Regions from separate parts of the Homo sapiens genome. Here regions 1, 2, 3, 4, 5 and 6 are each linked to region 7. The links are contacts of gene promoters, found by promoter capture Hi-C in human tissues and cell types (Jung and others, 2019). All regions are on one chromosome and are shown on one strand. Each heading gives the region's core, a stretch centred on a gene start or on the middle of the fragment in contact. The rest is flanking DNA. Distances are from core to core; before and after follow the strand shown.

What was found. The method cuts DNA at HindIII sites, captures the fragments that hold promoters and counts their contacts. A contact is called where the count stands out against the background at its distance.
Region 1: a fragment that was not itself captured here is called in contact with the fragment with the promoter of ZNF24 in region 7 in 3 of the 25 tissues and cell types used here (dorsolateral prefrontal cortex, hippocampus and mesenchymal stem cells).
Region 2: a contact is called between a fragment that was not itself captured here and the fragment with the promoter of ZNF24 in region 7, in 2 of the 25 tissues and cell types used here (lymphoblastoid cells and spleen).
Region 3: a contact is called between a fragment that was not itself captured here and the fragment with the promoter of ZNF24 in region 7, in 2 of the 25 tissues and cell types used here (dorsolateral prefrontal cortex and lymphoblastoid cells).
Region 4: a fragment that was not itself captured here is called in contact with the fragment with the promoter of ZNF24 in region 7 in 2 of the 25 tissues and cell types used here (hippocampus and mesendoderm cells).
Region 5: a contact is called between a fragment that was not itself captured here and the fragment with the promoter of ZNF24 in region 7, in 1 of the 25 tissues and cell types used here (hippocampus).
Region 6: a contact is called between a fragment that was not itself captured here and the fragment with the promoter of ZNF24 in region 7, in 3 of the 25 tissues and cell types used here (dorsolateral prefrontal cortex, hippocampus and mesenchymal stem cells).

The regions. Positions count from the first base shown.
Region 1 is chr18:34,880,161-34,883,880 of GRCh38, reverse strand. DTNA (dystrobrevin alpha) reads right to left here. Exons shown (of 23, transcript NM_001386795.1): 21 at 1,680-1,812. Among named protein-coding and RNA genes, the nearest start is that of DTNA-AS1, 110 kb to the right of the region's middle. The HindIII fragment of the contact is 4,098 bases long and covers 275-3,720 here.
Region 2 is chr18:35,824,033-35,827,482 of GRCh38, reverse strand. No RefSeq gene overlaps it. Among named protein-coding and RNA genes, the nearest start is that of MIR187, 79 kb to the left of the region's middle. The HindIII fragment of the contact is 3,530 bases long and covers 1-3,038 here.
Region 3 is chr18:34,986,070-34,989,568 of GRCh38, reverse strand. It overlaps a transcript of MAPRE2 not described here. Among named protein-coding and RNA genes, the nearest start is that of MAPRE2, 54 kb to the left of the region's middle. The HindIII fragment of the contact is 7,504 bases long and covers 1-3,499 here.
Region 4 is chr18:35,693,434-35,697,069 of GRCh38, reverse strand. The region is part of intron 9 of GALNT1 (polypeptide N-acetylgalactosaminyltransferase 1); the gene reads right to left. LOC105372064 (a long non-coding RNA gene) reads left to right here. Exons shown (of 5, transcript XR_935377.3): 3 at 1-81; 4 at 731-854. Among named protein-coding and RNA genes, the nearest start is that of MIR3975, 100 kb to the right of the region's middle. The HindIII fragment of the contact is 6,903 bases long and covers 1-3,636 here.
Region 5 is chr18:34,934,524-34,937,865 of GRCh38, reverse strand. The region is part of intron 1 of LOC105372061 (a long non-coding RNA gene); the gene reads left to right. Among named protein-coding and RNA genes, the nearest start is that of MAPRE2, 110 kb to the left of the region's middle. The HindIII fragment of the contact is 3,215 bases long and covers 1-3,056 here.
Region 6 is chr18:34,841,519-34,844,934 of GRCh38, reverse strand. The region is part of intron 13 of DTNA (dystrobrevin alpha); the gene reads right to left. Among named protein-coding and RNA genes, the nearest start is that of DTNA-AS1, 76 kb to the right of the region's middle. The HindIII fragment of the contact is 3,608 bases long and covers 1-3,300 here.
Region 7 is chr18:35,342,282-35,345,954 of GRCh38, reverse strand. ZNF24 (zinc finger protein 24) reads left to right here and starts at 1,535. Exons shown (of 4, transcript NM_006965.4): 1 at 1,535-1,595. LOC124904283 (a long non-coding RNA gene) reads right to left here and starts at 1,901. Exons shown (of 2, transcript XR_007066337.1): 1 at 1,216-1,901. RefSeq lists a silencer at 1,308-1,477 and an enhancer at 2,158-2,217. The HindIII fragment of the contact is 10,533 bases long and covers 1-2,469 here.

The sequences.
Region 1 (3,720 bases), core at 1,074-3,573, 460 kb after region 7:
GGCTAGACCAACATTTTAGTTGCTTCTGAAATGTGGTCGTTAAACTGAAAAGGCAAATGGAACATTCCAAAGAGGCAAAACTTTGTTTTTATATTGCTGGGATGGAATTGGTGGGCTTCCGTTTCCCTCCTGCTACAATCTTCTTGGAAAAATATTTCAAGGCTTTATCTATAGACATATGAGAAATAGGAGATAATTTCTTCTCTCTGCTTCCCTTTTTTTTCAATAACAAAGTAAGACAGGGCACTGCTGCCCTAATAATATGCAGAAAGCCTGGGTATGGTGGCTTATGCCTATAATCCCAACACTTTGGGAGGCCGGGGTGGGAGGATCACTTGAGACCAGGAGTTCAATACCAGCTTGGACAACATGGTGAGACCCTGACTCCACAAAAAATAAAAACATTAGCCAGGCATGGTGGTGTGCACCTGTAGTCCCAGCTACAGGAGGCTGAGGTGGGAGGATAGCTTGTGCCCAGGAGTTAGAGGCTGCAGTGAGCTATGATTGGGCAACTGCACTCCAGCCTGGGCAACAGAATGAGACCCTGTCTCAAAAAGAAAAAAAAAAAGGAAAAAAGAAAAACAAAAGAATGTGCAGAAAACTTGTCTGGCCACTGGACAGAAAGTCTGACAGGATAAAATAACCATTGAGGCCCAGGTTCAACCAGGCAAACATCCCTGAAATACCAGAACCCCAAGTAAACGCCTGTGAATTAAAGGGAAAAGGAACATACCAGGAAGACAAACAAGGTAGTAGAACGACCTCCATGGGGAAATGCATGGCCTTTAGGATGAGTCGCTGGTTACATTTATTGCCAATTGTATATGTCATGTTCAGTGAATTTTCAGGTGGCTAACATACTCCAGTACATCTGAAAATCTGTCCGTCCATACCTTGATGAACACAGGCCTGCAGTTCCCCCAACATTTCTCCAGGAATTTTGCCATTCTCCTACTTACACTTGGCATGAGGTGGGCAATGAGGAAGACTGAGGGCAAATAATTCAAGGGAAGTGGTGGGTTTATGCTTATTCAATTTCCTCGTGCCCTGTTCTTTGTATCCATTTAAAAATAATTATGAGAAAAAGCATCTTTCTTAATGGGCCTGAAAGAGTCTGGACTGTTAGTTACCTTGTTTTTTTCCAATATAAGAAGGCTGTTTATCACTTTCTAGGGCAGAATTTAAAAGAATACATGGTGAGTGACAGCTATAAGAGTGGGTGCAGTGGCTCACGCCTGTAATCCTAGCACTTTGGGAGGCTGAGGTGGGTGGATCGCGAGGTCAGGAGTTCAAGACTGGCCTGGCCAATATGGTGAAGCCCCTTCTCTACTAAAAAATACAAAAATTAACTGGGCGTGGTGGTGCATGCCCGTAGTCCCAGCTACTCGGGAGGCTGAGGCAGGAGAATCACTTAAATCAGGGAGACGGAGGTTGCAGTGAGCCAAGATCACACCACTGCACTCCAGCCTAGGCAACAGAGTGAAATTCTGTCTTAAAAAAAAAAGAAGTATTTAAAATGTTTACTGTCTAAAAGACACGGATTAAGGAGTGAAATCAGTGTATTTTGAAAAGGGAGGGTGGAAGGAAGAAGGCTCTGATTCTGCAAGTCATGTCAAAGACCCAGCTACCAAGGGGTTGAGGCAGAAGAGGTGGGGTGGGGTGGGCCTGGATCCCTGTACCTGATAAGCTTCATCTTGCAGCTTCTGTTTCAGGTATTCCTCCATCTGGAGCTCATTCTCCAGCTGCCGGACAGAGTCATTTTCATAGTTTTCATCTTCAGGCTGCACATAGGGATCTGCATCCTCCGTAACCCTGAAAATAAACCACAGATGACATGTTAGAGCAAATCTTAAAAGAGAATTACAAGCGGGATTCATGTGTGAGCTGTAGTTTCGTTGGCACCTTTATTTCCCCTTAGTTCTCCAAGTCACTTTCATGTCTTCTTTAGTAATACCTAAAAAAAACTTGGAAACATTTTGGAGGTTTGAAGCGATATATGATCAAGGTATTTTCATACACAATTTTTTTATGGCAGTTGCGATCATTGGTCATTTATCTTTTCCTAGGGTTTACTGGAATGGGTTGGCCCTTTAAATGTTCTATAATTTAAAAAATGGCAAACATCTTTTGAGGGGATACAAAGTTTTCCCAATCTGAGGGCTCTTTTTATTCTTGTTTAAAATAGAACCCAAGATCACTTTCTGTGTGGAGAGTGAGCCCTCTAGTGAAATAATGCTTAAGGACATTTGGTTATAATTTAACCTCTTTTGTGTTACACATACGCACATACATGCACATACACATATGCATGCATACCACATTCATGCCTTATTTTTATAGAATTAAGTCTTAGAATATCAGCTAGTCAATGCCAGGAGGGCTACTAACCCATAACTCTTGACCTTAGCTCTAAATCTGAAAAAAAAAAAAAAAAAAAAAAAAAGCATTTTAATTATCCAATTCCACTATCAAATAAATAGATAAAAATGACCTCATTCCCTAATGTGGGACTCTGTCTCCATCTATTCATCCTAGACTATGCAAAGCTTTTCATGGGGCTGGACATAAACTCACTACCTAAATCATAGGACTAAAAGAGTCTCAGGGTAAAACACAAGTACATGTTTAGACAATAGAAATATTAAATTATTCCCTAAAATGAAATAAGTGGTCAAGAAGAAGTTTCTAGGTTGGAACTTAAATGTCGTTGTTTGCGTTTATTTATAGCTGTACAACATGTTCTGGTTATTTTTGGAGGTTTGGGGCCAGGCTAAATGGGTCTGCCCAGGACTCTGTTAACTTTCCTTCCCTAACTCCTGAGTCACATGTTGGTAGCTGGTACTGCTACTCAGCATACCAGGGCTAGCAGATTAGGGTGGCCTCAATAGTCTTGGATTTTAGAATTAGGACAAGGAAATTCTAGCTAACTGCCATATAAATGCTTAATAATAAAAAGTCAAATAGATATGAATTTACCAGACAAAACAGATGACAACTAATTCACCATTTTGAATAACAAATCCAACAATTCTAGAATACAGAAGAAAGGACAAGAAAGCAAACTATATTAAGCAGCAGCGTACTGCCATGTTAAGTCCCATGATAATGGTTTTGTTTTGATCCTACTCTCTGCTGCTTCATAGCTGACTCTCAGACCACACCTCTTGATAATTCTCCATGATTACTGATTGTTTATTCACTGCTTGGATGGAGAGCCAAACACCAGAAAGGCCTCTGTTTAGTTTCTTCTCTGAGTCTTTAAAATGGCCAGTTTATTTTTATAGACTAGTCTGAAGTACTTTTCATATTAAGCAACATCACCCTTCTGAAGTATTTTTAGCATTCAGAAACTCCCTCCCCCAGCTTTTGGGTCAGCCTTTGCCCACATTTCCCATAACTCCATGAACCATGGTCATTTAATGGGCCACTTTCTTCATTTCTTTTGTTTTTCTCCTTTTTCTCCCAAGTTGGGCTCTGCAGCTCTGTCCCAGCTTTGCCTTTGTTTCTCAGCTTTGGTTTTCTCTGTTGACTAATTTGAGCTGATCCAGGGTCACAGAAAGTCTAGTGGGGACGTTACTGATGCTGCTGGTTTCTGACAAGCTCCAGAACTGGGTGAAAACTTTTGCAAATAAGTCTTTGGAGGGTCAGATTCATACAAATTCAACAAGTCAACCAAACTGGATTTCTTTATAATGAGATTTTATACATGTACTTATTTCA
Region 2 (3,450 bases), core at 24-2,523, 480 kb before region 7:
TATTCTGGTTCTCTGCAGTCATATTTGGAGATGTCATATTCTGGTCTCCTACAGCTATCAATACCTGCTGGTCCTTGCTGTATTCAAAGTTGAGCCCAATCTCTCATCTCTATTGAAATAATCTTATTGTAATAGTCTTGAATAAATTCTTCCTTATTTTAATAAATGTAGAAACAATTTTTTCTTTAATACTTCCACAGGGTACCACTCTGCCTGCCAGTATTTGGTATTGCTGAGGGACTGGGGTTTATGGAAACATGTCCAGCAGGCACACTAGGGTGGTGAATGATGGGGCTATTGCCTTGGTCAGCATAGTTTCCCCTTCATCCCCTTTTTGTAGTACCAGCCCCTTCTCATTGGCCATGGGACAGGCACAGGATTCAGGTCTGGGCTATTTCCTGGATTTAAGCTGGTCTACATGCTCTTGGCCAGATAATATGCAGACCATGGAAGAAATAAGGTTACTTCTGTTGTGGGTGCCAAGATGGGAAGATGTTAAATTGAAGCTTTGCCCCCACTCCCCAGTGGAGGAATCCCTCCTGATGTTGGCCAAAATGGAACTAAATGCAGAGGGCATCAGGGCAAAAGAAGGAAGGGTCCTGAACTTATCCTGGAGATTCCAGCTGGCTTGGGGCCCTCCCAAAGCAGGGATATTCCCTATGGGCCTGAGCCAGTCTTAGTTGAGATGTCTGCCACTAGCAGATGAGAGTCCTGAGTGCTGCACGGTATGGTGCAGTTACCCCCTTGTACATTCCTGGAGCAACCCTCCCACACCTACCCCACAGCCCCCTGGAGTGAATGTCACCAGTGCTGGTTCCCAGTTCCTCTCTCTGGGGCAGCAGTACACAGCATGTCTGAGCTGGGGCCTGGCTTTCCTTTTCTCATTACTGCTGCTCTCCAAAGTCTGTACAGTACAATACATTAAGGCAGTGTTTTTCAACTTTGAGCAAGGGTACAGACCCCCTTCAGACTCCCTGTGTGAATTTAAATTATTTTTTATAGCAAATGCCAACATAAAACACATGCTCATGGCTATAGAAAACCAAAATAAAATTTCAGCCATAAAATCAACGAAACTCAAGGACAATAATTTAATGACAGATTATGTTTTGCTAACACCACTGGTGACAGTGAGTTTATTATTAGAAAATGTTCTCTAATTGGTTCTGAATTTTCATAGGGAATAAATGATGGGAGGAAACCTTGAGCTGATTTCTGTTTTCCTGCCTCCTAACATTTCCATTTCATTAAGACTGTTCAAAGGGAGGCAAGTAATTCTGGTTCTGAGAGGAGAGGTGACTCTTCAGCTTTCCCCTTGAGGTTCTGAGAGATTTGTTTGGAAACCCTAGACTGTGGGATATTTGGGTGCTCTTAGGTCCCTGTTTAGGTCTCTTGTCTTCAGCTGTCTGGAAGAGACGTCACATGACCCTAGACTCTTTTTTTTTTCTTTTTGAGACTGAGTCTTGCTCTGTCACCCAGGCTGGAGTGCAGTGGCGTGATCTCGGCTCACTGAAACCTCTGCTTCCTGGATTCAAGCAATTCTCATGGCTCAGCCTCCCGAGTAGCTGGGACCACAGGCACGTACCACTGAGCCGGGCTAATTTTTGTATTTTTAGTAGAGACAGGGTTTTGCCATGTTGGCCAGGCTGGTCTAGAACTCCTGGCCTCAAGTGATTCACCCACCTCAGCCTCCCAAAGTGCTGGGATTACAGGCGTAAGCCCCCACACTTGGCCACTCTAGACTCTTAAAATATAATGCCCGTGTCTCTGGGTTTTGGTCCTAGGCAGGTGTAAATATCCTAGGCAGCAGAGGCGGAGCTGTTTTAAATCACAGTTGGGCAGCTTGGGCAACATAGAAAGACCCTGTCTCTACCAAAAAATAAAAAATAAAAAGAATAGCCAGGCATAGTGTCGCACACCTATAATCCCAGCTACTTGTGAGGCTGAGGTGGGAGGATTGCTTGAACCCAGGAGGTCGATGCTGCAGTGAGCCGTGATCGTGCCACTGCACTTCAGCCTGGGTGACAGAGTGAGACCTTATCTCAAAAAAATAAATAAATAAATAAATAAATAAAAATGTCACATTTGGGGAGGAACAGGGCTCTTGTAAGAGTCAAAAGCCCTCAGCATTTGAAAAGGATAATGGAGGAATATGAACACATTGAAAAAAATGTGAAAAATGGCAAAAAAGAACAATGTCTTCTTTCAGGATCATTTGAGAAATGGTATGTTGAAAAGAAATGGAGGCTGGGGGTAAGAAAGCTGGGTGTAGAGAAGGGATATGTCAGGATCCCAAATCCCCAGCTTGGGTTCCTCTGTCCCCAGCCACCAATCCCTAGACTCCTCAGCTCCCAGACCCTGGTCTCTAGCTCCAAGCATCAGTCTCCAGCACCCCTATTCCATTCTATTTTCCTGAGTATTTTATCCTATTATAAAATGCTTAAGCTTTATTCATCACCCAATGTACTTCTTTGTCATACAGAATATGTATAATAATTGAAGTGAACACTTTAACCATTTTCCTGTGACATAATGCCTGCATCAATTTTTTGAAAGCTAATTATTGAAAGTAACATTTTGGAAGTGCCTTTCTTAACTTTTCTATGTTTAATAACCGCTTTAAAAAGTCATAATACATAAAATGACATATCATTTTAATAAAATACATAATATGAATAATTTTTAATTCAATCGAGAAGAAATATTTTAATACTTGGCATATTACAGACAAGGGAAATTTTTTAAAGTTCTACATTTAAATTATTTGATGATATATTTCTTTGTGATTTTTGGCATAAAATTGGAAGGAGTTCAAAGAATTGAATGAATAGCTATAACACATCTCCTCCCATTCCCATCTACTTATTATGTGACTAAGGATACTCCATACTTACATTGATGAAAATGAACAAGAGGAACAGAATTTTCACTGAACTCTATCTCATTTTAGTAATAAGTATTATCCATGCATGACTACATGAATGGATTTCTAAAACACCAGCAAAGATGGAGGGCTGGATGGGGCTGACTCAGGTGGGCCCTCTTGGCAGGGTAAGATCAGACTTGCCCTGGAGCCTGAGGCACATTTCCCAGATGCAGCTACAAGGGGGGTCCCCTAAGTGGTCCCTGAGACATGGTGCAGAACTGATTACCACAGGGCAGGCTGACCTATGTCTCTGTGGGCCACGGGAGCCAAACGGGGAAGGTGTAGTGTTCTTACCTTCTGAAGAAAAGGGGTAAAGTTGATTCATGTATCAAGCAAACTTACATTAACCGTCTCTGTGTGCTGGGAACAATGGTGGCAGGCAAGGAGTTCTCTTCATCAAGAATACTCCAAGAACAGCAGTGATAACAGCAATTACAGTGCTGCATGGTGAGGATTTCCCCTCTCTCCACCGTGGCTCTACTAAGTCTCAATATTCTGTCCTCTTCAAGAGTGTTTCAGCTATT
Region 3 (3,499 bases), core at 273-2,772, 360 kb after region 7:
GCAATTTTTTCAAAATTTTTTGGTAAACATAGGGTCTCACTATGTTGCCCAGGCTGGTCTTGAACTTCTAACCTCAATAAATCCTCTTGCCTGAGCCTCCCAAAATGCTGGCATTATAGGCATGAGCCACCACACACAGGTGAACCACACATTTTGCATACCAAGAACCTGAGACAAGACAAAGTCCAAGCTTGAATCAACTAGGACATCCAGGATAGAAGACCGAGAGAAGGCACAGGCAAAGACCCCAAAGCTAGAGACATTAAGCTGGATAAAGGGAACATTACAAATGCTAAGGGAACATTTTATGTAAGACATTGTTGAATGTAAATACAGACAAGAAGAACTTTACACAATAATAAAAATAGTTTTTGTAATAGTTGCATGAGGGTGGTTAACATTAGGAGTACTTCCTCCCACTCCCCTCCTTCCTTTTTTGGTTTGGGCTCTCACTAATGAACTTATGTTTATTAAAACAACAAAAGGATAAATAGATTTCTCCTTTGTGTGCTAGTAGTGGAAATTCTGCCCTGGGATGTTTTAAGAAAATGACTGTGCAGGCTCTTCCAATTTGGGGTTGTATGATTGGATAAGATAAAAAGCTACTTAATAACTAATCACAATTATGTAATAATGTGGTAATAATCATTTCCTGAGAGAGAGTGCAGGCAAGATTATACAGAATTCTAGAAGAAAAAAACAAAAGAAAAGAAAACCTGCCTTTTGATTTCACAGAGCAATGTCTGCTGAGGAATCCATTGCTTGGAGCCCTGGAGCACATCACTGTTCCCCAGCCATGAGGAGAACTTTAAGGTTCTGAGGAGCAGAAGGGAGTGTGTGGCTGACGTGGACATATATAGCCAGCAGCTACATGTAACATACATGCTCTGTGGCTTCATTCCCAGTGTGTAGATCACCCTTCTTCAAAATCAGGCATGTTGCAGGAAACCACATCCTATAATAGTCAACTGCAGCCCTATATGAAGCAGATCATTAAACAAGTCTTAGGACATCACTGTACGTCCTACAGTCATAAAGATGTACACAGATGTTATCTGATCTTGTAACTCTTGTCAGACTTCGCTTTCTCTATTTGACAGATGAAAAAACTCAATTTGAAGGATGTTGATGAAGGATGTTAATAACATCTCTAAAGTCACCCAGTTAGCAGCAGAACCAGTTTTAAAACTCAAGCTACTTGGCATTCTTGCTCCAATTTCAGAATTCATTCTATGATACAATACTATAATTTCTAAAAGACAGGAAAGCAGACATAAAGAAGTGAGGTTTTAGAACTCAAAAAGAATTATCTATGGACTCTTTTTGTTACTTTTAAAAACTTTAAATTTCACAAGAATAGTTTGGAATCTCCCATAGACCCAACTGGATCTCCTTTTGTCCAGTTTTAGAGGAATCTGGGGATACAAGTATATGAATATGTGGTATTGGTATATAAATACTGTTCTGTAAGTTACAATAATAAAATGAAAAACAAAAGAGATTTGCTGGTGATCTGAGTGCCAGGAATTATGATCCACCTAATTTACAGGTTAATCAAGGAAAATCCAGAATTATATATTAGCCTGTTCATTTATTCCATGAGGTCTTTGAAAAAGTTGACTTATAGGCCAGGTGCGGTGGCTCATGCCTGTAATCCCAACACTTTGGGAGGCCGAGGTGGGTGGATTGTTTGTTCCCAGGAGTTCGAGACCAGCCTGGGCAACATGGTGAAACCCCGTCTCTACAAAAAATACAAAAATTAGCTGGGCATGGCAGCATGCAGCTATAGTCCCAGATACTCAAGAGGCTGAGGTGGGAGGATCACTTGAGCCTGGGAGGTGGAGGCTGCAGTGAATGGTGATTGTACCACTGCACTCCAGCCTGGGCAACAGAGAGAGACCCTGTCTCAAAAAATAATATTTTTTCACATTGATTCATAATATTATAAATGGCCATTTAGGAATTTTATATGAATAAAATGGAAATACAATGATTTCATACCTGGAAGATATTTTATCTATCTTCTAGGGGGTTAAAAGAGACAGCTTATTAAGGATTATTCAACAAGGTATTAAACAAAAATACCAATTTAATGTGTGGAAAAAGTGAATCCTCTAGTTCAGGGCTTCTCAAACTTCAACACGCATGTGATTCACCTGTGTTCATTTGTTAACGTGAAGATTGTGATTGGGGAAGTCTGGAATGGAGTCTCAAATTCTGCATTTTAAGACACTCCTAGGTGATGCTGATGCCTCATCTAGGTAGCAAGGCATCATTGCAATCACTTGGAATCTCACTTTGATTAGGAACATACTGTTGACATCGTTGATGGATTTCTCATGTTAGCCCTACTTGAACTAACAATATACCTATTGAAGTATTTATTCTATTAAAAAATTGGTGAAAGAATAGAAAGTACTTTAAAATATCTTACAAAATTAAAAACATTGCTAATTTTCTAGTTCTTGTTTTACTTTTTATTTCCTCTCAATCTAGTAAATTGTGCAAAAAAACTTCAGTTAATGGCTTTTTTTCCTTGAGTAAGTGAAGGCAGCTAAGACATTTTTAATTCATTATCTCATAAATATAACCTCAGATCTTTTACAGACCAGGAAAGCTAGTCATTTTGAAATCTATTGTATCATAAAAGTAGGATTGCTGAATTTAGCAAAAATAAAAATTAAAAACCAAATAACAGAAAAATGAAATGCTCAGTTAATTCAAATTCAGATACACCAAAACAAATCTTATCTAAAATCAAATTTAACTGGTTATCCTGCATTTTACCTGGCAACTCTACAGAAAAGCATACCTCCAAATTTATCTTGAAGTGCTGAAGGTCAGGTGCTGGGATGGAGAATTAACAGACCCACTGACCGAGTTGCCTAAACATTTCAACTGTAGAGGGAATTGCTTCTGGATTTGCCAATACTACATCACACACTTGGTTATTACTGCTGCTAATTTGTGGAAGCTCCTTTTAGGGGATCTGTGCCCAGGAGACCACACTTTTAAAAAAATCACAATAGAGGGCAAGCTGGAAGTGAAACTACCGAAGAGCCTTACTTATATCAATAGCGTCTTTCCCGGGAAGAACCAGGTGGAGCAAAACCAGCAAGGTCTTTCTTGTAAGGTCTCTCTTTTTTTCCACTTTATGGAGAGCTGAAGCTGCTCAGTGGGAGAGCTAAGATAGTAGTTTCTTGGTAAGAATCATGAAAGGTTTTTCTTCTTCATATCAAATGTTGTTAAATTGATCAGATTTAAGATGATCTTTGAAAGAAGGAAGGAACGTTCAAGGTGGTTTCAGGCCCTGTCATCTCTTACCAGTTTTTGAAAGCCTTTACCAGCTTTTAAAGGAGCAAGCTAATCCTCTCATTTCATTTTTATGTATGATGTGCAGTAAATAGTTTCAGGTACTTCAGCAAAACAAAGGAATCTACTCATTTCTAGGTACCTTTTCTTGTGTATTTACCTACCTCCTACCTACTTCAAATACCGA
Region 4 (3,636 bases), core at 26-2,525, 350 kb before region 7:
GCCACTTTAAAACTACTATTTTTGACATTAGGAATTGAAAATAATTGTGAATGCACCCATTCTTGGAAAACCAGGCAAGAGGTTAGAGCTTAAGTTTCTTTGTTTCTACTATTAGTCTCCTCCAGAATCAGTATCTCCATTAGGGTGGACAATGTAAGAGCTTTGTTAAACCATTTTTATAATCTAGCATTAGTGAATCTGGATTCACTTTTCTACTCTCTGCTGCAAGGGAAATACTGGTTAGATTTGAGAAAGAATACGGACATTAGGGGTTAACAGCACAGGCTCTCAAACCAGATGGTTGTGAGTTTAGCCGTGTTTTTTAAACCATTTATTTGTGTCTCAGTTTACTTATCTGTGAAGTGGAAATAACAGCACAATCCTATAGTGTTGTGCTTTAATATTCATCAAGCATTCAGATTTGTGCTTGACATAAAGTACATGCTCAGTAAATGTTAGGATTATTAGATCTGCCTGGAAAAGCAATTGGTCAGCCCCTAAAACTGACTAAACCAGTAAAGGTCTAGATTGTTTACTTTTTGTTGTTTAGAATACTCAGCTCCTGAGTTAACAACTATCAGATACCACAATGAAACACATTTGTTCAGGTCCTACAGGAACTACGAACGTCAGCGTTAGCTGAAGCCAGATGCCCTAAATTATATCTATTACCCTAGTCATATTTACATTTTCTGATTTCCCTTTCTGCTGAAAAATCCTATGATTTCAGGTTTCCCTGGACCCTTGAAGCATGAGAAGAGATCTATGAAAGGCTAAATTACTGTTGCTAGCAAAGGAAGGCTCACATGGGTGAAGCTGTGATCAGAAGCATAAGATCCCTGGGCTGCACTATGGTGGGTACTCTTAAGAATGACCTCCAATCTAGAAATGACACTTTTAACCTGTAGGATGTGGCCTGGTATTAAGGGCGTACAAGGCTTAAGGCCAGCTGTTAAGTTAATAAGGCGATAACAAGCAGGCCACAGAGGGTAAACGCTGCGACTTGCCCAGAAGCCAGCTGGCAAGAGGCAGGTAAGACGCAAGCTTGCCTTGGCAGTCATCTACCATGGAGCAGACAAGTGTTTCTTTGTCACACGCCCGAACTCTGGCCCAGCTAACAATGCCTAGGCATTGTCCAAAATTGGGTCAGCTCAAAAAAAACAAAACAAAAACAAAAAACTCCTCATTTTTGGTTCTAAAGACAAGCTGCAGAGTGACTGCTAGAAATCTTTCCCTGGCGCACCACTCACCCTGGGCCTTCTTTGACCAGTACGAGGTCACAGCAAAGGAAAACACATTCCCATTAATGAGGCATCAGTGAGAATGAAAGGCTCAAGAAACTCAATGTAGCCCTCACTTGTTTGAAAACAAATTCCTTAAATCACAACAAGGTTCAGAGGTAGGGAGCTCAAGTCAATCCTGAAGTAGCCTTAGTAACTGTTAGGATAAATGCGTAAGTCTGTGCCTGCCCTGGCACTGAAGAAAACACCAGGCCAGATGGCTTCACCAACTCTCCACCATCTGGCTTCCTTCAGTGATCTACTTGCTTTCCCTTATCTTACATTTCTATTTTACATCCTTTTCTCTTTCCCCAATTCCCCCTCACCAACACCTTCTTCACTCTCAGCCCATAATCTTGTGTTCAACTGAGGAAACAAGCCACCAGAAGAGAAGGTCCTCACACTTCCACCACAAACTGCCAGTTTCCACCTCCAAACCTACAGCTGCCCTGCACTTGTTCCCATTCCTCTACCTTCCTCCCCATGATAAGAGATGACCTCTCTTCTTCCCACCCCCACCCAACACCCTCTACTTGTGTACAGATTTCACCTCCTATCCACCCAAATACATGACACCCATAACAACAGATCCCTTCTTTCTTTTTATTCTGGTGCAGAAACACATAACATAAAATTTACCATCTAAACTGTTTTCAAGTGTACAGTTTAGTAGTGTTAAGTATATTCAGGCTGTTGTGAAACAAATCTCCAGAACTTTTTCATCTTGCAAATGTGAAACTCTATGCCCATGAAGTAACTCTTCTTTAGGCCCTTCCCTCAGCCCTGGTAACCACCATTCTACTTTCTGTTTCTATGAGTTTGACTATTCTAGCTGCCTTATATAAGGAGAATCATACAGCATTTCTCTTTTGGTGACTGTCGTATTATGCTTAACATAAGGTCCTCAAGGTTCATCCATGTTGTAGCATGTATCAGAATTTCCTTCCTTTTTAAGACTGAAAAATATTCCATTGTACGTTGTATCACGATTTATAGCAGTCACTCTGTAGCTTGTCTTTAGAACCAAGAAGGAGGAGTTTTTTACTTTGAACTGACCCAATTTTGGACAATGCCTAAGCATTGCTAGCTGGGCCAGAATGAACGGACACGTGGAGTGCTTCTACTTCTTGGCTATTGTGAATAGTGCTGTTATAAACATGTAAGTAAAAGTAACTCTTCAGACCCTGCGTTCATTTCCTTTGGATACATACCCTGAGGTGGAATTGCTGGATAATATCGTAGTTCTCTTTTTTGAGCATTTTTTGAGAAACCTCCATACTATTTTTAAATAGCAGTTGTACCATTTTACATTCACACCAACAATGCACAAGGGTTCCAATTTTTCAGTATCCTTGCCAACATGTGTCATTCTCTGTTTTTTTGATAGTGGCCATTCTAATGGGTGTTAAGTTGGCTCTTTCTTTTGCATCTTTAAATTTTCTCTTTTGGGTTGCTCATATCAGCACAGTTTTATCTTAATAAAGAAATAAAAACCCCTTTAAGCCCATATTCTCCTCCAGCTACCACCTATTTATCTTCTCTCTTTTACAAGAAAATTCCTTGCAAGACTTGTACACATTCATCTATGTTGCTTCTTCCATTCTCTCTTCAAAACAGAGTTTTTAACAACATCCATGGGGAACTCTCTCAACACTGTGAGATAGGCTACTGATAACATGTCCCTAGCCAAATGCAATAACCAATTCTAAGTACTCATCTTCCTCAATTTCTCTGCAGTATTCGATACAGCTGATCACTTCCTCTTTCCTGAAACACGTCTTTCCCTTAGTCTTGGCGACACCACTCTCTAGGTTCTCCTATTTCACTGCCTACTCCTTCTCAATCTTTTTTGCTGATTCCTTCTCATCTCCATGATTTCTAAACTGTGGCATTCCCTCTGGCATTGTCCTCGGTCTTCTCTCTCATACTTAACATTTTCTCCTCCTCAGGTGACCTCATACAGTTTTGTGGCTTTAAAAACCATCCTATATGCTGACAACCTAAGTTAACATCTCTATCACAACCTCTCCCCCAAAGTGAATATTCTTAAATGTAAAGACCTATTCATATCTTCACTTGGATCTCAAATTTGATGTGTCCCAAACTACTGTTGATTCCCTTGAGCATCTGCTCTTCCTGTAGGTTTTCCCATCTCAGTAATGGCAACTTTACAGTCAGTGTCTCAAGCTTGATAGAAACCAGACATAATCCTTTACTCTCTTCAACAATACACCAGCTCTACTCCTGTTTCCATATAGTTTTTCTCCACATAGCATACAATGTGATCCTTTTCTAGTGGAAGTTTGCTGGTATCTTTCGATAGCTTCCATTTGATTCAGAATAAAATGCAAAATGC
Region 5 (3,342 bases), core at 200-2,699, 410 kb after region 7:
GGTGGCTTTATAGAACACAACTCTCATGAATAATGAGAATTGACTATATTTTAAGAGGGAAAATAAAGACCTAACAAAAAATACAGACTAGAATGCATATGAACCAGTAAGATTAACATTAATAATTCTAACTGATGGAGGAAGACCAGAAATTGTAAAAGGATGTGGGGTCCAAGATCCAGAAGCAGGTACCTTTCCATTTTAGGCTTGAGGGAAAGAGATAAGGGAATAATCAGAAGAAGAAAATTTGAGGGGATGGAAGGGAATGGCAGAGTTGAAGACCAAATTTAAGGAGTTAAGGGCATCTACTAAAGATGATGTGGGGGGTTAATTAGGGACCCAAAAAGGATGTCAGCATTTTGGAATAGTCACTGAGAGGTACTAAGGCTAAGAAATGAAATGGTACTTAAAATGAAAGAACAAGCAACACAATTATAATTTATGACTTTTTTTTTGTTAAGATACATAGAAAAATGAGGTTTATAAGCAGATTGTATGGAATCTATTGTATAGATTGTTTAAACAGGCAGAATACTAACAAAATAATATTGTTTTCCCTAAGCCCTTGGCCAGGCTTCTAAATTGGATGTGTGGTGGCAGAACTATCATTTCCAGGCAAAACGTATATGTTCTTGATACTAAAATAAATTGTTTACGTGTTTTTCAAGTGCTAGTCCTTATGTTGTATATTTGTAGACATCCATTTAGTAGTAATTGGCAATTATTTATTGAACATCTACTAGATTACAGAAGCCAGAAATACATAAGAAATTAAACCTAGCCTCAGCCATCAAGAATCTTAGCTAAGGGTATATACTCCCAAATGAAGAGACAATTATGATTCAGTGTGGTGAGTGCTGCAGTGGGATAGACATGGGATACGTGGGAACAGCTGGGAAGCCTCAGACCCAGTCCTGGAGGTTTCATGAACGAGATAACCGGACTGAGATAATTGGGCTACAAACAGCTGGCTGGGAGGGATTCTAGGTGGTACAAAGTCCCAGAGATACAAACCACATAAAATTGCATACCAGAATTAATATCAAAGTATCTATTCTATTCTATTTTTGTATTACATTGTCAAAACCAGTGGCTGGCCTGAGTGCTCTTATAATTTTTCTGTGTAAAGTTTTATGTGACAATTATCATAATCATCATCAAAATTTTAATGTCAATATTTCTATAAATTGCATTTATTATTTATTCTTTTAAACTATTACATGTTCTGCCACTTTGATTATAATCAGAATATATTTAAAATTTGAATGGCCATAAAATAAAATAAATTGTTATCAATTTATAAACACGCTAAGCAGAAATAAAAATAGACATTTGTCTATCTATCAAACTATTTTAGAAACTCCACAAAGATGATTTAAGAACACGTTTTGTAACATGGAAAGGATTTTAGGTGAATTTTTTACTTAATATCTTTATTAACTAGCTTTTCTAAAATAGTTATAAATAACCCTCAAGCATTTTTTATAAGCCAATCTTTTTCTCCCAAGCAAAGTTGTGAGAAAATGTTCAACTAATAAGCCTTAAAGTTAAGGATTCTGGCAAAGTTTGACATTATAAACACATATATTTTTTGAAGAATAGAGAATTTTTATAAATATTCATTCTGGATGAATACTCTGCTTGGAAGTGGTTTGTATTTCAAATAAAATAAACTTTACATTGATTTATCTGTCTTTTGTATATGGAATAGGAGATATAAGTGATTTCAGATGTGTTGGGAGTTCTTTTTATTATTCAATTGGCTTTTATTAAAACACTATCATATAATACTTCCTTGCAACTAGAGTCTTTTTTGCTTTAGGACAATTTAAAATTACATAAATATTTCTTTTTTTCACACACAGACTCATTGAAAACAGTTTGGCACTAATTAGAGAAATTCATGTAAGTTATGTGGTCATATATTGCATATTAGCCATTTTCTCTGACCTGTCAATTGGAAGAATGTTGCTATAAAAATATGGAGAACAGTATTTTAAATAAATGGTCAAACTGCATTTGGCACTTATCAGAGCTGGCTAAGGGATCTTGCATACTATTAGATGTATTTGAAAGTGTATTATTGGTTTAAGGAATACCACTGTGGGCTTTTTTTTTCTTCCCTAAATAAGTCATTTGAATTCCTATAACTTTTTTTGCATAAGAGTGAGTGTTGTACTTCATAAGAAATGTGTTATTTATGTCAGTATATTTCCATGATGCTGCTGTGGTTTCAATTTTATATTGACATAACATAGAGTCATGAATGGGCATTTGGGATTTTTAAAAAATCATTGAATTGATATATTTGAACTGAAATGCTGTCTATTTTTCTGTTTGCTGTTGGAAATAGATGCAGAATGTTTGCATTATTAATAGAGGGCTTTGGGTTAGTAGTTTCATGCAAGTGAATGGGATGTACAATTAATGACAGAAATTAAATTATTTTAAAAATAGTTTCAGTAGAGGAGAGAGACTAAGTTATTAACTTGACATTTTAGATATGAATTATTAAGTTACTGAATATGAAAACGTTATATCACAGAGGTATAGCCAAGGGAAAAATCACATTTGCTTTAGACTAAATGTAGCAGAAAATGAGAACCGGGAATATTCCCTCTCGCCATATCTATGATATACACATATGATAGATTTCCATGTGAATACCCAGATGTTGAAGAAATTCTCAGTAGTTTTTCATACATCATAGTGGACAGTTGTTACAACTATTAACATTATACTGTATCAGCAAATTGTGGACTGCTATTCAGGATAAGCTGTGCTTATACACAGTTCTCACATAGCTAAAGCAAGTGAGTGCAAAAGATACAAGGACATGCTGGGTGCGGTGGCTCACGCCTGTAATCCCAGCACTTTGAGAGGCCAAGGCGGGCAGATCACGAGGTCAGGAGATCGAGACCATCCTGGCTAACACGTTGAAACCCCGTCTCTACTAAAAATACAAAAAAACAATTAGCCAGGCGTGGTGGAGGGCACCTGTAGTCCCAGCTACTCGGGAGGCTGAGGCAGGAGAATGGTGTGGACCTGGGAGGCGCAGCTTGCAGTGAGCCCAGACGGCGCCACTACTGCACTCCAGCCTGGGTGACGGAGCGAGACTCTGCCTCAAAAGAAAAAAAGAAAGATACAAGGACATGCAGGAAGTCATTCTATATATATATCTGAAAAGAAGCAAATCATTTTTAAATGTTGATACTTCACTAAGGCAAGCCGTGCATTTGATTATTGTACACTAGTCTGTTCCAATAGCATATTGAAAAACTGCTGGCCTAGAGGACTCTGGCTATGGAGAACACCCATGCATTATGAGTCATCAAGATTTCT
Region 6 (3,416 bases), core at 247-2,746, 500 kb after region 7:
CTACCCGAAATGCATGGCCAGTGTCTGTTGCCAGTGATTTCAAAATGGCATTCCAGGAAACTCAAGTGGCCCCAGCTGAGCTAGGGCTTATGAAAGTGTGATTTAGCAAAGATTTTTGGGAACTCACGGTTTGTTCACATTCTTTTGATTTTTTTCTGGGCCTGTTCTGCTTTCTAAGTTAGGGTAGTCAACCAGAAAATACTGTGATCCAAAGCATATAGCATATATAAATGCAAAAGCAAAAGCATATATAAATGCTTCTATATTTTCTTTTCATATTTTTTCTACTACTCTGGCTAGTGATGGGAATTTTATCACTAGAAATTAATTTAGAAGGCCATCGAGTTTCATGTACTACTCTTCTATTAAGAGGATTAGTTAACTCAAATGGAAGATTGCTTTATTAGATTATTCTCTATCTTTGGCAGTTGGTTTAGAGCAAAATGCTAAGGGAATAGAGCACTTTTTTTTGGCATTTAGAAGTCAGTGAGCTCAAGAGAGTCAGGGTAGAAAGGAACAAAGTGACACTGGGGACCGAGAAATGGTTTTACAGTACTGAAGAATGGGGAAAGAAACTAACTCTCAAAGCTTAGTGTAGTGGCCCTTTGTGAGTGGTTTGGAATAACAACAAAAAAAGACAGGAAATCATGAAATGGCAATCTTCATGGATAACAATAAGAATTTACCACAATAATGGCTTCCTTAAAGGAGACCTTTAAACTCCTTTATTGAGACCCTGACTTCAACAACCCCCTATGTTACAGTTGAGGTCATGCATTCTATCTTCTAAAAACTCTCAGACTCCTCCATTTCCTTCTACTCCAACTGTTCCTGATGTGACAGTCTTTAGATTTATATTTCCAGGATTCTAAGGAAATATCTTTCTCAGAAGTCCAGTTCTATAATTGAAGTTCCTAAAAATTTTACTAAACAAAAGGAGTCGTGTTAACAGGAAATGAAAACTCATATAAAAGAGACACTGTCAGTAAGTGTAGGTAACTCTTCTTTTTTCTTTCAACAGATTATAATTTCTTTTTTCTTTCAACAGATTGCAATAAACTCACATTTTTCAAAATCAACAAAATGTACTAAAAAGAGTCAGTCAAATCTTGACCTACACATTAAAAATATTAAAGGCATACAATTCAGTGGATTCAGTGGGGAAGTGGGTTATGGATTCAATTGTGTCTCCCCCAGTATTCATATGCTAAAGCATATGAATACCCTCAGTACCTTAGAATGTGACTATATTTGGAGATAGGGCCTTTAATTACAGTTAAATGAGGTCATAGTGTGGGGCCCTAATCTCATAGGACTGCTGTTCTTTTAAGGAAAGGAAGAGACACTAGGGTAGAGAAAAAAGGTTATTTGCGGACACAGCAGGAAGGTGTCCATCTGCAAGTCAAGGACAGGAGAAACCAACCCTGCTGGCACCTTAGTCTTGGACTTCCAGCCTCCAGAACAGTGAGAAAATAAATTTCTGTTGTTCAAGCCATCAAGTCTATGGCATTTTGCTTTGGCATTCTTAGCAAACTAATACAAAGATGAAGAATCTAGGGGGGCATTAAAATTAAAAAAAAATTCTTGCCCAATTATCACTTTAAGTTTTTAAAAAAATTTTAGAATGCCCTATTAGTTGCTCTGTTCACATCAGTGAATTGCTGGTGCTTATCTTTGCCCATGTCTACCACTACACAAAGCTTAATACTTTAATTTTTCATCTATTTTATACTCCTATACTAAATGTTCAATTTAAGTGCTACTCTATAATAGTGATTTTTTTAAATAGTAAAAATTCTAATTTTGCTAGTAAAGTTTCTGACTACTCCTAACAACTTTGTTTAGGGGAAGATGGAATTTTTTTAGCTACTGCACTACTGATATTCTACAATATCAACAGATGTTTATTGAGCACCTACTATGTGCCTGGCACTGTGCTAGATGTCAGAGATAAGGTGGTGAACAAGTTGGAGAGGGTCCCTGCCCCACTGAAGATACAGTAAATAGTAAGCCAACCAACCAGCCACCAACCAACCAACTAACCAGTCAGCCAACCAACCAACCAATGAGCTAACCAGCCAAACAGCTAACCAACTAACCAACCAAACAATGACTGCAGCTGATAAGAAGAAAATAAAAATAGTATGCTATAATAGAGACTAATATAGAGGACCTACTGGGGGAGGTGTCTTTAATCTAAGATTGGAAGCTAGACAAGCAAGTTCATGTGCATATAGTAGGGGTGAAATGGGAAAGAATGTTCTAGACAGAGGGGAGAACTAGTATTGGAGTCTTGAGGCAGGAAAGAGCTTGGTTCGTTGGAGGAATTGATCAAAAATTGACATGACTAAATGTAGTGATTGAATGGGAGAACCCCATGAGATCTGAGGCTGAGAAAGGAGTAGGCAAGGGCTAAGTCACATGCAGGTTTGTACACCATGGTGAGGGGTCTGGGTTGTAAACTAGGTCCAATAGGAATCTATTAAAGAGTTCTAAGCATGCAAGCTAATAAAAATTTAGACCTCATAAATGAAATTCTGAAATAGGCATTCTTAGATGTCTTTTTTCCCAAAGCATAAAATATTGTGGAGCAATTTTAAACTAGATGGATTATTAATCCACTTAACAAGAAATCTATTGACAACACAAATGTACACTTTCTTGTACTTGAGAAAAATATAAGCAGAACAATTTTAACCTAGTCATATGACATCAGGAGTCTAATCAAGTGACAATGTTAGAGGTAGAAGTTCTGGGCTGGTTTCAAATCATTTGGTTGGTCTACTACAGACCTTGGTATAAACTAGCAAGCCCAGGAATTTGACAAGCTTTGGGGGAGGGTAGTAAAAGCCCACACTGTATCACATTTCAGACTCCTTCTCCTGCAATGAGGAAGGTGCATACAAATTATTAAGGCTTTTAAAACTTCATTGAATTAGGAAGGAAGCAGAAATTCTCCCTTGAGCTGCAGTTTATTTATTTGACTTATCTGACAGAACCAGCAATGACATAAGTGTTTCTTTAGCAGCAAACTATTACAAATAAGTCAGTTTCCCAGTGTGTTAAGTAGTTAATATAGGGTAGAAGACCCCCACACAGAGTTAATCAGGATTAGGTCTGAATAATGGCAAAAACAAAGCTTTTGATGGAGAACAGCTAGAGGCCAAGGAATGGGGTGGAAAATAGATGGGAACCAGTGTCATAAGACCTGTTTGCAAGCCCTTACTAGCATGTGACTTTGGATAAGTCACTTAATGTCTCAAAGCTCATATTTTTTAAACAGTGAAATGGAAATAATCATATCCAACCTTCTAGGACTATGAGAAGTAAATTAAATAATGTGTGGAAAAAGGCTTTGTAATTTTTGGAGCATTTCATAAATACAAAATTTATTATTCTTACTCCAGCTGTTGTAA
Region 7 (3,673 bases), core at 286-2,785:
CAGCTAGCCTTTACAAATCAGATAAGAGGGAAAGGTTGGGAAGAGCAGCCAAGTTGCTTAGGGGCCGTATCCAAGTAGCAGAGTGAAAAGGCTGTACTTCTGAAGCTTCCTGCAATGGAGAGAAGTGTTAGCAGGGGTTGTGAGAAGAGCTCTGGTCGGAATGAAAAGCAGTGGTATACCATCAGCTGCTCGCTCACTTGCTCTCTCATGCACGAATCCAGCGGAGCCTGACGGCACTTTTCAGAGGGCATTTTCTCCAATGAGGCAAAAAGTCAAAGCCTGAGGATCTTGAAATGCTTATGTTAGGCTGGATCTACACTTTTGACCAGTCCTTAAACAACAGGGCTCCTTTGTGTGGTGTCTGATGCCAATCATGTGACCTAGCTAAAGGCAGCAATGTAACCATCCCACAATTCATTTATTTATTCAACAAATATTTATTGAGTTCTCTATTTACCAGGCAGTCAGCTTCCAGGATCTAGGATGGGATACTGTGGTGAGCAAGACAGACAAGGTCCCTGCCCTTAAGGGACTTAAAGACAAAACAAAACAAAAAATAAAACAAGTAAATAAATGAGATCACTTCCATTAATAACAGTGCCATGAAGGGTCATGCGCCATGAAAGGCAGGTGGTGAGGCTGAGGATCTTGGGCCACAATGAGCCGAGGAGCTGAGGTGACTGGGGGCGCCAGGGTCTGGGGGTGCGGGCAGGCAACAGACCACAGGGGACTTACAGGCCATTATAAGGAGTTTTTATGTCATAAATTATTATGACATAAATTGGAGGGCTTTAAATAGGGGAGTGAAGTGGTCTGATTTGTAATTTTAAATGATCGCGTCAGCAGTTGTTTTATGGTATAAAATGCCCAGCTTTAAGATGACCATGCATTCTACAAATTCACCGTGACATCACTGCCAAAACTCTTAACCTGTCTTATCTAGTTTTCCTGACAGATAAATAGGTCGGAATAAAGCTCCATGACATAACTAGTGGGAGCCAAAGATTTGAATCACGTCTTGGTTTCAAATCTTGCTACCCACAAATGAGTTGTGAGCTCTTGTCAGGTTATTTACTGTATTTGTGCCTCAACTATCTCAGCTGTGAAATGGGGATAATGAAAGTTCCTACATCATTTATTTGTGGAAAAAAAAATGACATGTAAAGCACGACGAGAGCGCCTGGCACAATGTAGTAAGCTTTCACAAACACTCACTTTCATTCCTTCTTGCAGGGGATTACTGAGAGGATCCACAAGATAATGCACGTGAAAGGGCTTGCGAAATTGTAAGGACTATCTTAATGGTAGAGTCCTCTTTATGTTTTCTTTTAAACGGTCCAGAGGACGCTGGGCTGTTCGAGGAGAGGCGCGAGGCCAAGCGCAGCCTCAATGCGGTCATTGTCGTGGGGCCGCCCCTCCCCCGCCCGGGGCGCTTCTCCATGGCAACGTGGGCTTTACCTCTCCCCGCCTCCTCAGGCCCGCAGACCGGAAGCAGCCCGCGCCGGGGGCTTCTGGGAAAAGGCTTGTGAACGGCGTTTCTGCGTCTGCCGTGGACAGCGAAGCTGCTGCGGTTCCTGAGCCGGAGGTTTGCGCCGGTGTGCGGGGAACGTTATGAGAGGGAGGGGGGACACCGGGCTAGGGTCTGCGGACCTCTTAGCAGGAGCCGGCGGGGAAGCCTGTCCGGGACCTTCCTCAGCTTCCCGGGAGGCGCGGGGAACAGGCCGCGGTCTCCGCGCCTAGCAGTTGTGGGGCGGGGAGGGGTAGGCGGCAGGCCTGCTTGGGTCTTCGGCATTTGCAGAGAGCTCTCTAACCCCCTGTGTCCTCCGAGACCCTCACCTTCCCCCTCCCCCACCGGCCGGTTTTGTTCTATTTCGAGGCCCTGGCGTCTCGCGGAGGGTTCTGGGAGTCGTGATGGGAGGGGGTGGTAGTGGGACGAGACTTGCGCGGGGCTTCTGGGATTTGTAGTCTCACCGGCCGCAGGCGGAAGTGCCGTGGTTCCGACGCTGTTGTCACAGGGTGGCCTTTGGTCATCTGAAATCCGCGGTCCTGAGTGCTGGGAAGAGGGGCTAGAGGACGTCGGGCCGGGGCCGGGGCCGGGGCCGGGATACACAGCAGGTCTATGCAGCAGTAAGGTGGGCGATCCACCTGGGACGAGGTACCCTGCCCAAACATTGTCGGGACCGTGGGCCTTCCCTCCATTTCCCACAAGCGGTATGCTCTACAGCATAAAAGGAAGAGAAAATTATGTAGAAATACTTGCACCGTTGATAAGCAGGGTCTTGGAATAGGAACGAATGAATGTTGGCTAGACCTTATGTATAAGGCCACCACACTCCAGGGTATTTAATTAAACCAGTATGTATTACTTGTCTGATAAGGCCTTTTCTGATTCTAGTCTTCATCTTGCTTGGGTTACAATAAGTTTTTTTAAGTTGTTATTGTTCAGATTTTGGGCCCTGAATAAATAAATAGGCTGAATGGCTCATTGCTAGTATGTGTCGTAAACAACAGCACGGGCATGATCGTGCAAATAATAAAGGTCCAGAAGCAGTATACAGTTTCACTGAAGGTAGAAGCTGGGGAAACTGTGAGTCCTCCAGTGTAAGGACAAGACACTGGACCACTGCAGGAAGTCAAGGTGCTTATGCGAGTGCCTTTTCTTAATAGAAGTTTCTGTGATTAATGCCTATCATTATAAATATAAATGTACGTATGGTGTGGTGGAAGACTGAATATTTACGTATTATGTGCAAGATAATTTTTCAAAATTATGTGATGTTTTTCACATATGATCTTTTCAATATTATGTGATCTGCTACTCAGCAAGTGAACATTTTTTCACATATAAGTCCAAGGAGTTCTTAAACACCTTAAAAATATTTTTTAAATGGTAAAGAAAATTTTTTTAAGCACATAATAATAAAGCGAACCTTCCTTTTGAGTTGACTTGTGTGTGTCAGGAAACACCAATCCTGAATTGGAAATAATGCGTTCCAGGGTCAGGCACATTTAGAAAGCACTGAAGTAGTCTGGTTCTTACTTGGATTCTTTTGATTATTGACATAGGGTTTGTCGTCTTAGTAGGTCATGATTGGCAAACTTTTTCTGTAAGCGGCCATATAGTAAATAAGGTCATGCATAACTCAACGATAGTGCTATGGTCTGAGAAATATGTTAGGCTATTTCATCCTTGTGTGAACGTCATAGAATGTACTTGCACAAACCTAAATGGCGTAGCCTACTACACACTTAGGCTATCTGGTATAGCCTATTGCGCCTAGGCTACAAACCGGTACGGCATGTTGCTGTACTGAATACTGTAGAGAATTGTAACACAATGCTAACTATTTGTGTATCAAAACATAGAAAAGATAAGAGTAAAATATGATATAAAATGTTTGAAAAAAAAAAAAGATATGCCTGTACAGGGCACTTACCATGAATGGACCTCGCTGGATTGGAAGTTGCTCTAAGAAGTCAGTGAGTGAGTGGTGAATTTGGAGGCCTGGGACATTATTGTACATTCCTATAGACCATATAAACACTGAACACTTAGGCTACACTAAATTTATTAAGAAAACATTTTTCTTCAATAATTAACCTTAGCTTACTGGAACTTTTTCACTTACAAACTTTTACATTTTTTTTTAACTTTTTTACTCTTTTGTGATAA